Linked DNA regions of Homo sapiens: region 1 is linked to region 2. Evidence: promoter capture Hi-C in human tissues and cell types (Jung and others, 2019). All regions are on one chromosome and are shown on one strand. Each heading gives the region's core, a stretch centred on a gene start or on the middle of the fragment in contact. The rest is flanking DNA. Distances are from core to core; before and after follow the strand shown. Region 1 holds the start of COA3 (cytochrome c oxidase assembly factor 3). Region 2 holds the start of NAGLU (N-acetyl-alpha-glucosaminidase).

Evidence for each region. The method cuts DNA at HindIII sites, captures the fragments that hold promoters and counts their contacts. A contact is called where the count stands out against the background at its distance.
Region 1: the fragment with the promoter of COA3 here is called in contact with the fragment with the promoter of NAGLU in region 2 in 2 of the 25 tissues and cell types used here (bladder and mesenchymal stem cells).

What each region holds. Positions count from the first base shown.
Region 1 is chr17:42,795,823-42,803,058 of GRCh38, reverse strand. It overlaps COA3 (cytochrome c oxidase assembly factor 3), which reads left to right and starts at 4,355. Exons shown (of 2, transcript NM_001040431.3): 1 at 4,355-4,591; 2 at 4,892-5,434. The coding sequence starts at 4,378. The coding sequence ends at 4,998. It overlaps CNTD1 (cyclin N-terminal domain containing 1), which reads right to left and starts at 4,198. Exons shown (of 7, transcript NM_173478.3): 1 at 3,823-4,198. The coding sequence starts at 3,991. WNK4 (WNK lysine deficient protein kinase 4) reads right to left here. Exons shown (of 19, transcript NM_032387.5): 16 at 7,026-7,236; 17 at 6,737-6,936; 18 at 6,481-6,578; 19 at 5,993-6,373. The coding sequence ends at 6,371. RefSeq lists enhancers at 4,343-4,392, 4,413-4,462, 4,603-4,672. The HindIII fragment of the contact is 12,523 bases long and covers 1-7,236 here.
Region 2 is chr17:42,531,091-42,537,490 of GRCh38, reverse strand. It overlaps NAGLU (N-acetyl-alpha-glucosaminidase), which reads right to left and starts at 1,250. Exons shown (of 6, transcript NM_000263.4): 1 at 836-1,250; 2 at 1-93. The coding sequence starts at 1,218. It also overlaps the pseudogene PTP4A2P1. RefSeq lists silencers at 748-817, 938-1,347, 5,212-5,361 and enhancers at 207-944, 1,458-1,537, 4,802-4,851. The HindIII fragment of the contact is 7,033 bases long and covers 160-6,400 here.

The sequences.
Region 1 (7,236 bases), core at 3,106-5,605, 260 kb before region 2:
TCTGTGGTGGCTGAGCCTCTCCCCAGGAGCAAGTGTGTTACTGTGAAGTGGCTTGTTTTGAAGAAACATCCCCTAAATTGGAGAACATAGCCCAATTTAGGGGGAGGGAGTCATTGGGAAGGTGGGAAGGGTGAGATACCTTGGCAAGATTTTAGCCTGCCTCTGTTTCTCTTTGAAAGAACAGCTCCAGATAGAATTATATTTATCTTGCAATATCATTAGAGGGTGGAAACAAGGGTAAATGTCAGTTCTCAACAAAGAAAGCTCCTACAGACTGAAGACCTTTTAGCATTGATCCGTAGAGAATTACACATTTAGTCAAATAATCATATGTCTTCAGAGAAAACTTAACTTTCTTAGAAAATTTAGTCAAGCTTACACAAGTAACAATCTACTCAACACACATTACACATAGATAGATGTACAAAACCTCATCGTTACAGAGGCTACAGTTTGGCTAGCAATGTCCAATGCAGGACAGAATTAGTTTAAGCAATTCAGCATAATACCCTAGAACATATAATTGTGTCTCTTATTAGTCATTTTATTTGCTGGACTTTAGGCTTTATTTCTTAGTTTTGTTCTTTGTGTATGTGTGCAGTTGTTAAGTTTTGGTTTGGTTTTGCTCTGAATTATCTGAGCATTTGTTTCTGTTTTCCATTTTAATTTGCCAAAAAAACTGAGCTTGGATTAGGTGGAATGGATGAGGGTTACACCTTTCCCTTGCTATTGGCCCCACCTCCTCGATAACAAGCATACTCAGATCTGCTATTAACTAAAAGACCCTCCCCTTTTAACCTCTCTCTTTCCCATCACTGTTGAATTTTTTTTTAAATAAATAAATAAATAAATAATAAATAGACGGGATTGTCCTATGTTGCCCAGGCTGGTCTCAAACTCCTGGGCTCAAGCAATCCTCCCATCTCAGCCTCGCTGTTGAATTACTTGAAAGCCTGGCTTACACACCCACTGCTTCCACTTCATCGTTCACTTCCTAATTTTCTATCTGTTGGCTTCTACCTTTCCTAACTTGCTGAAATGATTCTCAGAGGACAGTAAATATGTCCAAATTGTTAAATATCATGGCTTTTTGCAATCTTTAGTTCTGTTGATATCCCTAAAGCATCTGAAACTTCTGACCATTATCCTTTTCAAAGTCTCCTCTTGGCTGCCAAAAGTCCCTTGGTTCTGTTCCTATCTCCTCCTTTTATTTCCTTCACAAGTCTTCTTACTCCAATTCCCTGAACACAAAGTGTTTTCCCAAGGAACTGTCCTTGACCTGCTTTTCTTTTCTCCTTCTAGGAGCTTATCCTCTGCCACAGTTTCAACAATATCATTGTGAAGATAACTTGAAAACCTTGATCTCCATTTCTGACCTCTCTTCTAACCTACTCTTTGAATAGTCTACAAGAACACTTCTTTTAGATGTTCTGCAAACACCTTAAACTCAGCAGATCCAAAACTAAAGCTATTATACACACACACACACACACACACACACACACATATATTATATATATATATATATATATATATATATATATATATTTTTTTTTTTTTTTTGAGACAAGGTCTCACTCTGTTACCCAGGCTGGAATGCAATGGCGTGATCTTGGCTCACTGCAACCTCTGCCTCCCGGGTTCCAGCCATTCTCCTGCCTCAGCCTCCCAAGTAGCTGGGATTACAGGTACCTGCCACCATGCCTGGCTAATTTTTGTATTTTTAGTAGAGATGGGGTTTCACCATGTTGGCCAGGCTCCAAAGCCATTATTATCTTTCCCAAACAAAAGTCACTTTTCCTCCTGCTTTATTTATGTAGTGTGTCTGTGTTTTTTGTGTTGTTTTTTTTTGTTGTTGTTTTTTTTTTTTTTGGGAGACAGAGTCTTGCTCTGTGGCCTAGGCTGGAGCGCAGTGGCACAATCTTGGCTCACTGCAACCTCCGCCTCCCAGGTTCAAGCCATTCCCCTGCCTCGGCCTCCCGAGTAGCTGGGACTACAGGTGCCTGCCACCATGCCCAGCTAATTTTTGTGTTTTTAATAGAGACAGGGTTTCACTATGTTGGCCAGGCTGGTCTCGAACCCCTGACCTCGTGATCCACCCGCCTCAGCCTCTCAAAGTGTTGGGAATACAGGCGTGAGCCACCGTGCCCGGCCGTGTCTGTGTGTTTCTTTTAATGACCACTATACTTCCAGTCTTCCAGGCTCAACCGTTTAGCATAGTCACGTTTTCCTCCTTCACTTCCTAAATTTATCCACAGCAGAACCCTAGACTTTGCCTCTAGAATGTTTTTAATCCACCCTCCCTTGTTATTCCCTCTGCCCTATCACCTAGCCTACTGACATTGACTCTACCTGTCTGCCTACATCCCATCTCCCTCTGGTTTAATCCATCCTTTACCTCCTTTACATCACTGCCAAAATAATGTTTACTAAGGCAGGGTTACCATCGTATCCCTTATTTTAAAACCTTCACTCCCTTATTTAAAAACCTTCAATGTCTTCTTGGTTTCCTACCAAACCAAGGATAAACTCTTCCCCTTGGCATTCAAACTTCCACATGGAATGTCTCCAAACTACCTTTCCAGTATTAATTTCAACTATTCTTCCACATGCACTGGCCAACATGGACTACACTGTACCCACATGCACCCTAAGCACCCCATTTCCATAGCTTTACTCATGCTACCTCTTTTTGGTAGAAACACTGTCTCCTTCCTCCCCCTTCACCAACCCAATGTCCTCCTTCCTTCAAGGTCTGCCTGAAATGTCCCGATGCCTGGGCCATCCCCTGAATTCTTCCTATTACCCCATCGCTCCTCTCAACCCCCATAAACGCTTGTTTTATTTCTCTCTGACGTCTCTTATCTAACCATAGTACCTAGTCATTGCATATTTGTTCTAATATCTCCCCCAAATTGCACATGGTTTGAAGGCAAGACCTCTATCTCTATTTCATCTTTCTTTTCTCTTTTTTTTTTTTTTTTTTTTTAGACAGAGTCTCGCTCTGTCACCCGTCACTCAGGCTGGAGTGTAGTGGCGCCATCTCAGCTCACTGCAAGCTCCGCCTCCCGGGTTCATGCCATTCTCCTCCCTCAGCCTCCGGAGTAGCTGGGACTACAGGCGCCCGCCACCACACCCGGCTTTTTTTTGTATTTTTAGTAGAGACGGGGTTTCACCATGTTAGCCAGGATGGTCTCGATCTCCTGACCTCGTGATCTGCCCGCCTCAGCCTCCCAAAATGCTGGGATTACAGGCGTGAGCCACCGCGCCCAGCCTTTTTTTTTTTTTTTTTTTTTTTTTTTTTTTGAGACGGAGTTTCATTCTTGTCGTCTAGGCTGAAGTGCAATGGCACGATTTCGGCTCACTGCAACTTCCGCCTCCTGGGTTCAAACAGTTCTCCTGTCTCAACCTCCCGAGTAGCTGGGATTAGAGGTGCGCGCCACCAGTCCTGGCTAATTTTTGTACTTTTAGTAGAGACAGGATTTCACCATGTTGGTCAGGCTGGTCTCGAACTCCTGACCTCAGGTGAACCTCCCACCTCAGCCTCCCAAAGTGCTGGGATTACAGGTGTAAGCCACCATGCCTGGCCCTCTATTTCATCTTTCTAGCCAAGCGGTGCCACTCAAGTATTCCATACATGTCGAAGAAATCAAGGGGAGGGCACTGTTGTGACTTATCCATCACTATATCCCCAGCACCCCACAGAGAGGTGTTAGCAAACATTCTCTGAATGAATAAAATCAACGGAATCTCAAGGTCGGTGCCTGAAAGACACAAGCCCCAGTCTCCCAAGAACCCAGCACCCCGGCCCTGCAGCCGCACCCACGATCTGGGGCTCCCTGAAGCGGCCCAGCCGCCCCGAAGCCTCCCTCACTGCTTGCTCATTCTGCTGGGCCAAGTGAAGCAGGGCGTCTTCAATCGTCTCTGTGGCGACAACTCCAAACTGAAAGTCAACGAGGGAGGCCGATCGTGGCCTCATGGGTCCGTCCATATTCACGAGCCTCTTGGGGCACCTGGACGGGTTCACTGGATCCACATACCGACCCCCTTAGCTCCTCTCCAGTCTTCTGCCACACCCTGGATTCCTCGTCCCCTTCCAATGAGTGTGTCGTCGCCTCAAGTCTGAGGAAAACCCAATTACCACCACAGCCTCGAACCCTCCACAGCTTTTTCCCGCCCCAACGGCCACGGACTCCTCAGCCAATCAGAAAGCACGTCCGCTTCTCACCTCCCGCGTCCATCCCCTGTGCCCGGGAACCGCGGCTCTGCCCCGCAAAGGGCACGCGGACTACAACTCCCAGAGTCCACTGCAGCGGCCAAGGGCTACTGTTCCCAGCGAGGCCCGCGCGGCGGCACCGCGAAGGGAGGAGTGGCAACATGGCGTCTTCGGGAGCTGGTGACCCTCTGGATTCTAAGCGTGGAGAGGCCCCGTTCGCTCAGCGTATCGACCCGACTCGGGAGAAGCTGACACCCGAGCAACTGCATTCCATGCGGCAGGCGGAGCTTGCCCAGTGGCAGAAGGTCCTACCACGGCGGCGAACCCGGAACATCGTGACCGGCCTAGGCATCGGGGCCCTGGTGTTGGCTATTTGTATCCGTCCGTGTTGTAGACTCAAGGGGACCGCATATAGGGGCAGGGGAACAGAGTGTGCAAGAGGGCTGAACCACCCGTTTAATTTTGGGGTAAAATGGGTAGTACTTTCCTTTGTTATTCCTAAGGTACTCTTTTAATTTGATTTATTAATAATAACGGAATTGGGGTTCAGGGTTTAGAAACAGCAGCGGCGGGAAGCCGGAATCACTGATTTGGGAGAGTAACAAGAGTGGTAGAGCAAATCTAGGAAAGGGGAATGTGCATATTCTGTGTGGTTTCCTGAACCTACCTCCCCAGATGGTTACACCTTCTACTCGATTTCCCAGGAGCGTTTCCTAGATGAGCTAGAAGACGAGGCCAAAGCTGCCCGAGCCCGAGCTCTGGCAAGGGCGTCAGGGTCCTAATCTGGATGGGTATTGATCATGTCCAACCTGCTGGAGCCCCTTCACATGGTGGATGATGCCCCATGACCCTGTAGAAATTGAATCCTGCTCACAACATTGTTGGCCTTCTTACTAACCTTGGACCGTGATTGAGCCCAAGAAACCAGGGACTTACGCATTTGGCCAATGTCAAAAGAACAGAACTTTGCCCACTGCACACTTGCTGTGTACAATGACTGAGCCCTTTCTTGTAGTTTGTTTCCTTGTTTGAGAGGTGTGCATGCGACCGTGGCTTTTCCCAAAGTTTCTGACTTTGTGGTTTACCCCCTTCACCTTCCAGGGACGCAGTTGTTACGAGGTTAGACGTGGCAGCTCTGTGCAGTGTTTGAGCCTACAGTGGGATACATAGGGTCAAATTGAGAATAATAAACTGAGTCATTCTCCTGGAGTCAAGTGAGTATGGAGGCTGAGAGGCAGCATATGGCACTTCATGCTGGAAAGCTTCACAAGCAGTAGCTGCAGTGGTGGCATTGCCCCAGGGAGCTGTAAATGTTTAACTAGAATTACTTTTTCCATGAGATCTTTCCACCTGATTTAAGGGAGAGATCACTGGGCAGTTTGAGACTGAACCCACGTCTTAGGGGAAGGAAGGTCACTCTTCTGTCCTCTACCCACAAGAACATACTGTAACTCTACTGCTTTTCCCATCCCCAGAGAGAGGGAGGGAGAGAGAGGTGGATGAAGGGTGAAAGACAAGCAGTCTTCATTCTTTTAACTTTCCCTGGTACCTGCCTATACAGGTCTAGGGTGGGGTCTGGAGGGGATCCTAACTTAGTCAAGTGGATCACTGACCTTGCAGTTTCCTCATTAACTGATGGCAGGAAGCCAGAGGGCTGGGCAGCTTCCACCCCTGCCTCCCATTGTGAAAAGAAAGTCCCTTTTAAATCCTCCCCTGCCTCACCCCACAAGTCTTTGCTCCCCCAATTCCTAAGGCATGGCATATGGATTCACGGCGTTCTTGTTTCCAGCATTTTTATTGGTTGCTGCTAATGTGGTGTGAGCATATCCCCTACACTCTCCCAGCTGGGAGTGGGCCCCTCTAGAAGCATCCAGGCTTGGGTGGGATTGCTTAGTGGTTGACTCTTGGCAGGGGAGGTGCTAGAGATGAAGATGGTAGGCAGCAGAACTAACACCTCCACACAGCAAACAGTTCACATATGTTTGGCTCTTCACTATAATGGAGCTGCACTCTCCATGCCCCCCTGGCCTTCTACCCCTTCAGTGTTGGGATCTTCCTTGCTCAGTTTTGTTGATCAGAAAGCATCAGATTCTGAGAACACAAGCTCCATGGTGGGCCCTGGTGTGGGGGAGATACATGGCTTCTGTTCTGAATTCACTGGAGGGAAAAGAAAAAGTGATGAAGAAACCTCCAAGGTGGGAGGAAGGCGAAGCTGCAGCCAGGTACCATTCCCTGGGCTCTCCCTCCCTTGGGCCCGCCCTCACCATCCTGCCAACATCCCCGGCGAATGTCACCCCCTTGCTTGCCCGCTGCTCCTGGGAGCCGGTGCTGCTGCCACTCAGAGAGTTCCTTCGCATGATGCCTGGGAGCAGGATGGGGGAAGGAGAGCACTAAGTGAGGAAAGGGGAGGTGGGGAGAGGGGGTCTATTCCCCCGGGGCAGACCCCCAGGGCCTGGAGAAAAACAGTCGACAGAAAGGGGTCTCAGGGAAAAGATGGAAGCTGGGTGACTGCAGTCTCACCAGGGCCTGGGGGCTCAGAGCGCTGTAGGCTGTTGCGGCGGGAGGTGGGGAAGCTGCCCTTGGAGAGGCGGCGCTGGCGGCTGGACAGCATAGCAGCTGGGGCCACAATACCCGGTGGGGGCTGCTTCCCCAGCCGGCTGTACAAATCTTCAATTTCTTTTTTCTGTAGTGTCTGTAGTGTTTCCACCTCTGACAAGTGCCTGAGGATGCACGGAGGGCATGAAAGGGCTAGCCACACACCTTGCTCTCCCAGGTTCTCCTCTCACTCCTCCATCCTCCCGAGACTCACTTCTGCCGAAGACTCTGCAGCTCAGCCCAGAACTCCTCATCTTCCCCACTGCTTTCTGACTCCTCGCTGCTCAAACACAGGCTGCTGTAGGAGTAGTTCATCCACACTGGGCTGGGATGGCTCAGGGGTTGGGGGCTGCCCCCAACTTGGGGTTCCTTCCCATCATCTCCTTCCTCCTCAACTCCAGCCCCCAGACCCTCAGCTGCACGGT
Region 2 (6,400 bases), core at 1-2,500:
AGCGCCATCCAGTCTATCTCTCGCTCCCAGCGGGCCCAGTCCCACCACACGAAAGAGTAGCTTTGCGTGCACACATTCTGGTAATAGCGGTACCTGCGGGCAGTGTCATGAGCAGGGGCGCATCCCACCCTGGAGGGTCCACGGCCCTGGAACAAATCCCCCATCCCCCACCTAGAGGAGAGGGGAGGGGCTCCAAACTCGGCCCTTCTGCTGCACACTGGGACCCACCCCAGGTGGAGCTGAGACCAGGTACCGGGGCTGGGCTTCTGAGGCACTCGTCCCCTGCACTCTCCCAGGGCCCTCTAGCCTGGCGGGTATTTGGGTGGCATATTCCACTTTCATGCCACACTGCCAGAGCCCCTCCTCTGCACGGTGTTTTCCTGGAACGGGGAATCCCTGCCCCCACAGTCTAACAGATGGGCAGGGGAGGACAGCTGTGTGAACACATCACTCCATAGTGTGGCAGGCGCTGGAACACAGGCCTGTAGGGTGGGGGATGGAGGCGTCCTTCCTCAGTCCGCAGGTTCAAAGAGAAGGTGGGGGAGGAAGGCAAGAAAATTCACTCATCACCAATTGTGCACCACAAATTCTATGCCCATCATCGTGCAAATCCTCACAATAACACTGCACGGTAGGCGTCTTCTTTCCGTTTTTCAGGTGGGCCAGCCGAGGCTCTGAAAGGCAGAGTGGCTGGCTCAAGGCCACACAGCTGCTGGAGGCGGCGCAGCTGGGCCTTCCGGCCAGCGCTCCCCGCTCAGCCTCCCGATTTGGGTGGCAGCGGCTCCGGGAGGGGGTAAGCGCCTCGGGCGGACGCGGGGAAGCTTCGGGGCGGTACCTGTTGGGCGTGGCCTCGGTCAGCTCCCCCGGCACGGCTGGCAGTGGCCGCGGCAGGCGCAGCTGAGAGCCGGACCAGGCCACGTGGCAGCCACAGAAGTCGCGCAGGTAGCGGTGCAGCCCCGCGGCGGCCGCCACGCCCGTGGAGCCGCGCACCCGCACGCGCGCCGCGCCGCCGCCGCCCAGGCTGTAGGTGTCCAAGCCCGGCTTGGCAGCCAGAGCGCGCTCCACCGACACGGAGAAGTCGGCCGCGGGGCCTGGCCCCAGCAGCCGGGCCACGAGCGCCCGCACGGCCGCCGCCTCCCGGGCCTCGTCGCCTGCCGCGCCCCCGGCCCCGGCCAGGAGAAGGACCCCCACCGCCGCGGCCACCGCCACCGCCTCCATGGTCTCAGTCCTGCGGGTCCCGCGACGGCCAGGGGGTGGGGCGGCCCGCGTCCAATCAGCTGCCGGCCTCCGGCCACGTGGACCCGAAGGCTAAGCCCGGGCTCAGGGCCAGGAGTCGCGGCTTCCGGGTACCAGGATACTCCCTTGGGGGCGTCTCGTGACCGCACGCGGTGGGGAGCGTGTGACCCCGGCTCCAGGGCCGAAGGGGACCCGCTGGCCCTCACAGAGCGCCTTCGGGTAAAACGCGCTTTCACACGCAAATAACTTCCATCCAACCATCTAATAAATACACATTTGGAGTTTATTTTGTATCAGGCACTGCCATAGCTACTTCCCTACTGATGAACGAGAAGACGGTCCCTACCGTCCCCGTCAGGGAGGTGACCTAGAAACCAGATATTTAACGTAAGTAAGGATTTCCATCATAGTTGTGATGCTGCGAAGTAGTGCAGTAAGTAGCGAAGTAGCGAAGTAAGGTTTCCAAAGGAAGTGACTTTTAATCTGAAACTCAGGGATGAATAGGAATTGGCTAGAAGAGGGAAAGGAAGAGCCTTCCAGACAGAAGAAATGCATTTATTGAAGGCCCTGAGAAGGCAGAGAGCTTGCAGATTTGAGTAACTAACAGGCTAGGAGGTTCGAGGAGGGATGGGGCCATGTGAGCCCAGGCCGGCGGTGGAGCAGGGCTGGCGGGCACGTTAAAGGCTGTCCATTGGCGGCAGCAGCAGCAACATAACAGGAGCTGTCATTTTGTCAGAAGTTTCCAACCAGAGCGACTCCATCTTGAACAGGGGCTGGGTAAAATGAGGCAGAGACCTGCTGGGCTGAATTCCCAGGAGGTTAGGCCTTCGTCACAGGATGAGACAGGAGGTCAGCACAAGATAAAAGGTCACAAGACCCCGCTGATAAAACAGAATGCAGCAAAGAAACTGGTCAAAACCTGCCAAAACCAAGACAGGAAGGTGACCTCTGATCGTCCTCACTGCTCATTATACGCTAATTATAATGCATTAGTATGCTAAAGACACTCCTAGCAGCGCCAGGCAGTTTACAAATGCCATGGCAACGTCCAGAAGTTACCCTATATGGTCTAAACAGTGGAGGAACCTTCAGTTGGGGGGGATCCCCACCCCTTTTCTGAAAAATTCATTACTAACCCACCCCTTGTTTATCATATAATCAAGAAATAACCATAAAAATAGCCAACCTTAGGCCAGGAGCGGTGGCTTACGCCTGTAATCCCAGCACTCTGGGAGGCTGAGGCTTGCAGATCACCTCAAGTCAGGGGTTTGAGACCAGCCTGGCCAACATACAGTGAAACCCCGTCTGTACTAAAAATACAAAAGTTAGCCAGGTGCTGGGCGCGGTGGCTCACGCCTGTAATCCCAGCACTTTGGGAGGCCAAGACGGGCGGATACGAGGTCAGGAGATCAAGACCCTCCTGGCTAACACGGTGAAACTCCATCTCTACTAAAAATACAAAAAATTAGCCGGGCGTGTTGGCGAGCGCCTGTACTCCCAGCTACTCGGGAGGCTAAGGCAGGAGAATGGCGTGAACCGGAGAGGCGGAGGTTGCAGTGAGCCAAGATCACACCACTGCACTCCAGCCTGGGGGACAGAGCAAGACTCCCTCTCAAAAAAAAAAAAAAGAAAAAAAGTTAGCCAGGCTTGGTGGCACACGCCTGTAGTCCCAGCTACTTGGGAAGCTGAGGCAGGAGAATCGCTTGAACGCTGGAGGTGGAAGTTGCAGTGAGCCAAGATCGTGCCATTTGCATTCCAGCCTGGATGACAGAGCGAGACTCCATATCAAAAAAACAAACAAACAAACAAAAAAAGTTGAAAGAGGCCTGGAATCAGATATCAACTTTAGATACTAGGGAAGTATGATTTTTTTTTTTAATCTCAGCTCACGGGAACCTCAGCCACCCAGGTTCAAGCCATTCTCCTGTCTCAGTCTCCTGAGTAGCTGGGATTACAGGCACGTGCCACCAAGCCCAGTTAACCTTTGTAGGGATGGGATTTCACCATGTTGTCCAGGCTGGTCTCGAACTCTTTTTTTTTCTTAAACATTTTATTCATTTTATAGAGAGATTTCTTGTTTGCTTTTGTTCTGATCATTAGGAGAGTGGTTGAGGAGTATTGAATCCATCACTACTTTGATGACACAGGTAAGAGTCCAGATTCACATTTCCAGGTACCAGGAGTTCCCTCTAAATGCCACAATCAAGTCAGCCTTCATTTACATTTCTTTCTGCTGAACACAGCAATGCCCATTGGTATCTCTGAAGCGTAATCGCATCTTAAGTAAAGCAGCTGTTTGGAATTTAACACTCCCCTTCTTTTTTGTCTTATAAACTGAACTGCATCTACGTACTTCATTCCACATTCAATCAAAGCAAGTGCAACCAGCACAGGTGCCCTTCCCAATTCCACAACGCAATGCACTGCAACACAGCAACCTGGCTCTTCACGAAATTTGGTGTTTAACAGGTTTAACCAATCATCTACTATCTGATTAGGGGATGGAGCTCCATCATCAAATGGCCAATCTAGAACGTGGATTCCTTCTTTTTCAACTGGAGCTTTATCATATGTAGCATCACAAACTCAAACCGAAGTCGTCACTCCATACTTCTTAAGTTCCTCTGTGAACTTGTTGAGAGTAGCATTGGTAGGGTTGTGAGTTATCAGAAAACACATGTTCTCATAGGAGATCTCCACAGGGGCTAGACGGTTCATTACGGCAAATAAAAAGTGTGAGCGTGCCTGTGAGTGTGATGGGGAAAGTGAAAAAAAAAATCAATAAATCTTGAAATGTTTAACAACAGAAAACATTAAAAAGACCATGAAAATGCCTATTATCAATCAGTGTTTTCTCTATTCAACTTGTTTATTCCTTATGAAGCTTCTCTCTTCAAGATAAGCAAAGTATTTAGAATCCACTTGAATCCAAATTCAATTTGGGCCTCAATTTCTGCAGATGGATACCTTCGGACTCCAAAAAACCCAACTACATACAAAACTGAAGCAGCCTTTACTACATTTAGGCACTAGTGAGACAAGTTAAAAGTGTAGGTCACTTTCCACTTGTTTACTTGATGCTTAATTTTACTGGAGTCATTCAAAGAAATATGCTTGCAATTAAAAAAAAAAAGCTGGCCGGACGCGGTGGCTCACGCCTGTAATCCCAGCACTTTGGGAGGCCGAGGCGGGCGGATCACGAGGTCAGGAAATCGAGACCATCCTGGCTAACACGGTGAAACCCCGTCTCTACTAAAAACACAAAAAATTAGCCGGGCGCAGTGACGGGCGTCTGTAGTCCCAGCTGCTCAGGAGGCTGAAGCAGGAGAATGGCCTGAACCCGGGAGGCAGAGCTTGCAGTGAGCCGAGATTGCGCCATTGCACTCTAGCCTGGGCGACAGAGGGAAACTCTCTCTCAAAAAAAAAAAAAAAAAAAAAAAAAAAGCTGCCGGGGTGCGGTGGCTCACGCCTGTAATCCCAGCACTTTGGGAGGCCAGGGCGGGTGGATCACGAGGTCAGGAGATCGAGACCATCTTGGCTAACATGGTGAAACCCCGTCTCTACTAAAAATACAAAAAATTAGCCGGGCGTAGTGGCGGGCGCCTGTGGTCCCAGCTGCTCAGGAGGCTGAGGCAGGAGAATGGCGTGAACCCAGGAAGCGGAGGTTGCAGTGAGCTGAGATCGCGCCACTGCACTCCAGCCTGGGCGACAGAGCGAGACGCCGTCTCAAAATAAATAAATAAATAAATAAATAAATAAATAAATAAATAAATAAATAGCCAACTATTTCTGAGGCCAGTCTCGGTGTCCAGAAGTCTTCAAGGCAATGTTAATTATGGCACATAGAACCTCCAAGCTCACTTGTCAGCGAAAACGCTGTGCTCAGCCTGGCAGAAATCTGCTCTCACATTCAGAATCGCCATAAATGTGCAACGTATATTCCAACGAAAAACGCTGGCGAGCTGGGGACTGGGCATTGAAGTCCGGCGGCGGCGGGAGCGAGGAGGTGCCTCTCTCCTCAGTCACCTGGGCGGCGGCGGCGGCGGCGGCTGCGGTAGCGGTGGCGGCGGCTGCGACGACTCCCCCCGAGCCTCGGCGCGCGACGCCCGGCCCGGCGGCGGCGGCGCCTCTCCACCGATCCGTTTTGCTGCTGCTGCGGCCGCCGCTGCATTTCCTGCTGCCGCCGCTGTCCTGTGGCGTCGCCTCGCGCCGTGCCTGGCCGCCGCTGCCGCTCCCTCGAACTCTTGACCTTAAGTGATCCATCTACCTCAGCCTTCCAAAGTGCTGGGATTACTTCTAAATTCTCCAGACAAGTTTTGCCTCCAGATGGCCTGTTTGATGGTCAACATGTGGTCTTTGCTCCTTAGATTGCTCCTTATCTAAATTGCTCAGATAAGAACTTTTTGTCTCCGGGGCCCGTTCGCTCTCTCACCTTTCTTAGGGTCTAGATTGGGACCCCTTTCCAGTAACAATTTTACAGATTGGGAAACAGAGCCAGAGACAGGAAATGACTTCGGCAAGATCAATAACTAGTAAGGAAAGCAGCTCTGGGCTAGAACCGGGAACTCTTAACTTCCAGAGCAGGGTTCTTGCTGCTCTTCCCCAGGCAGTGCAACTTGTCAGGCTGCCTATCTGATCAGGGAGGGCTTGAGTAAGGCTGCTCCGGGGCTGGGAGTGGCCCACTCTCCAGAAGGACTGCACTAGGTGTGCTAGATGTGGTGGCTCACACCCGTAGTCACAGCACTTAGGGAGGCCGAGGCAGGTGGAGCGCTTAAGTCCAGGAGTTCGAGACCAGCCTGGGTAACATGGAGAAACCCTGTCTCTACAAAAATCATCTGGGCACAGTGGCCTGTGTTTGTGGTCCCAGCTAGCTCCTCAGGAGGCTGAGACAGGAGGACGGCTTGAACCCAGGGGTTTGAGGCTGCAGTGAGCCATGACCACACCACTGCACTCCAGGCCAGGCAACAGAGTAAGACCCTGACTCAAAAAAAAAAATGTCTAGCCCATTGCAGTGGCCCCTGATCCTAAGAGGTTGAGGCAGGCAGATCACTTGAATCTAGGAGTCCAAGACCAGCCTGGGCAACAAGGCAAAACCCCTCCTTCTCTACAAAAAATACAAAGATTAGCCCAGCATGATGGCATGTGCCTGTGGTCCCAGCTACTG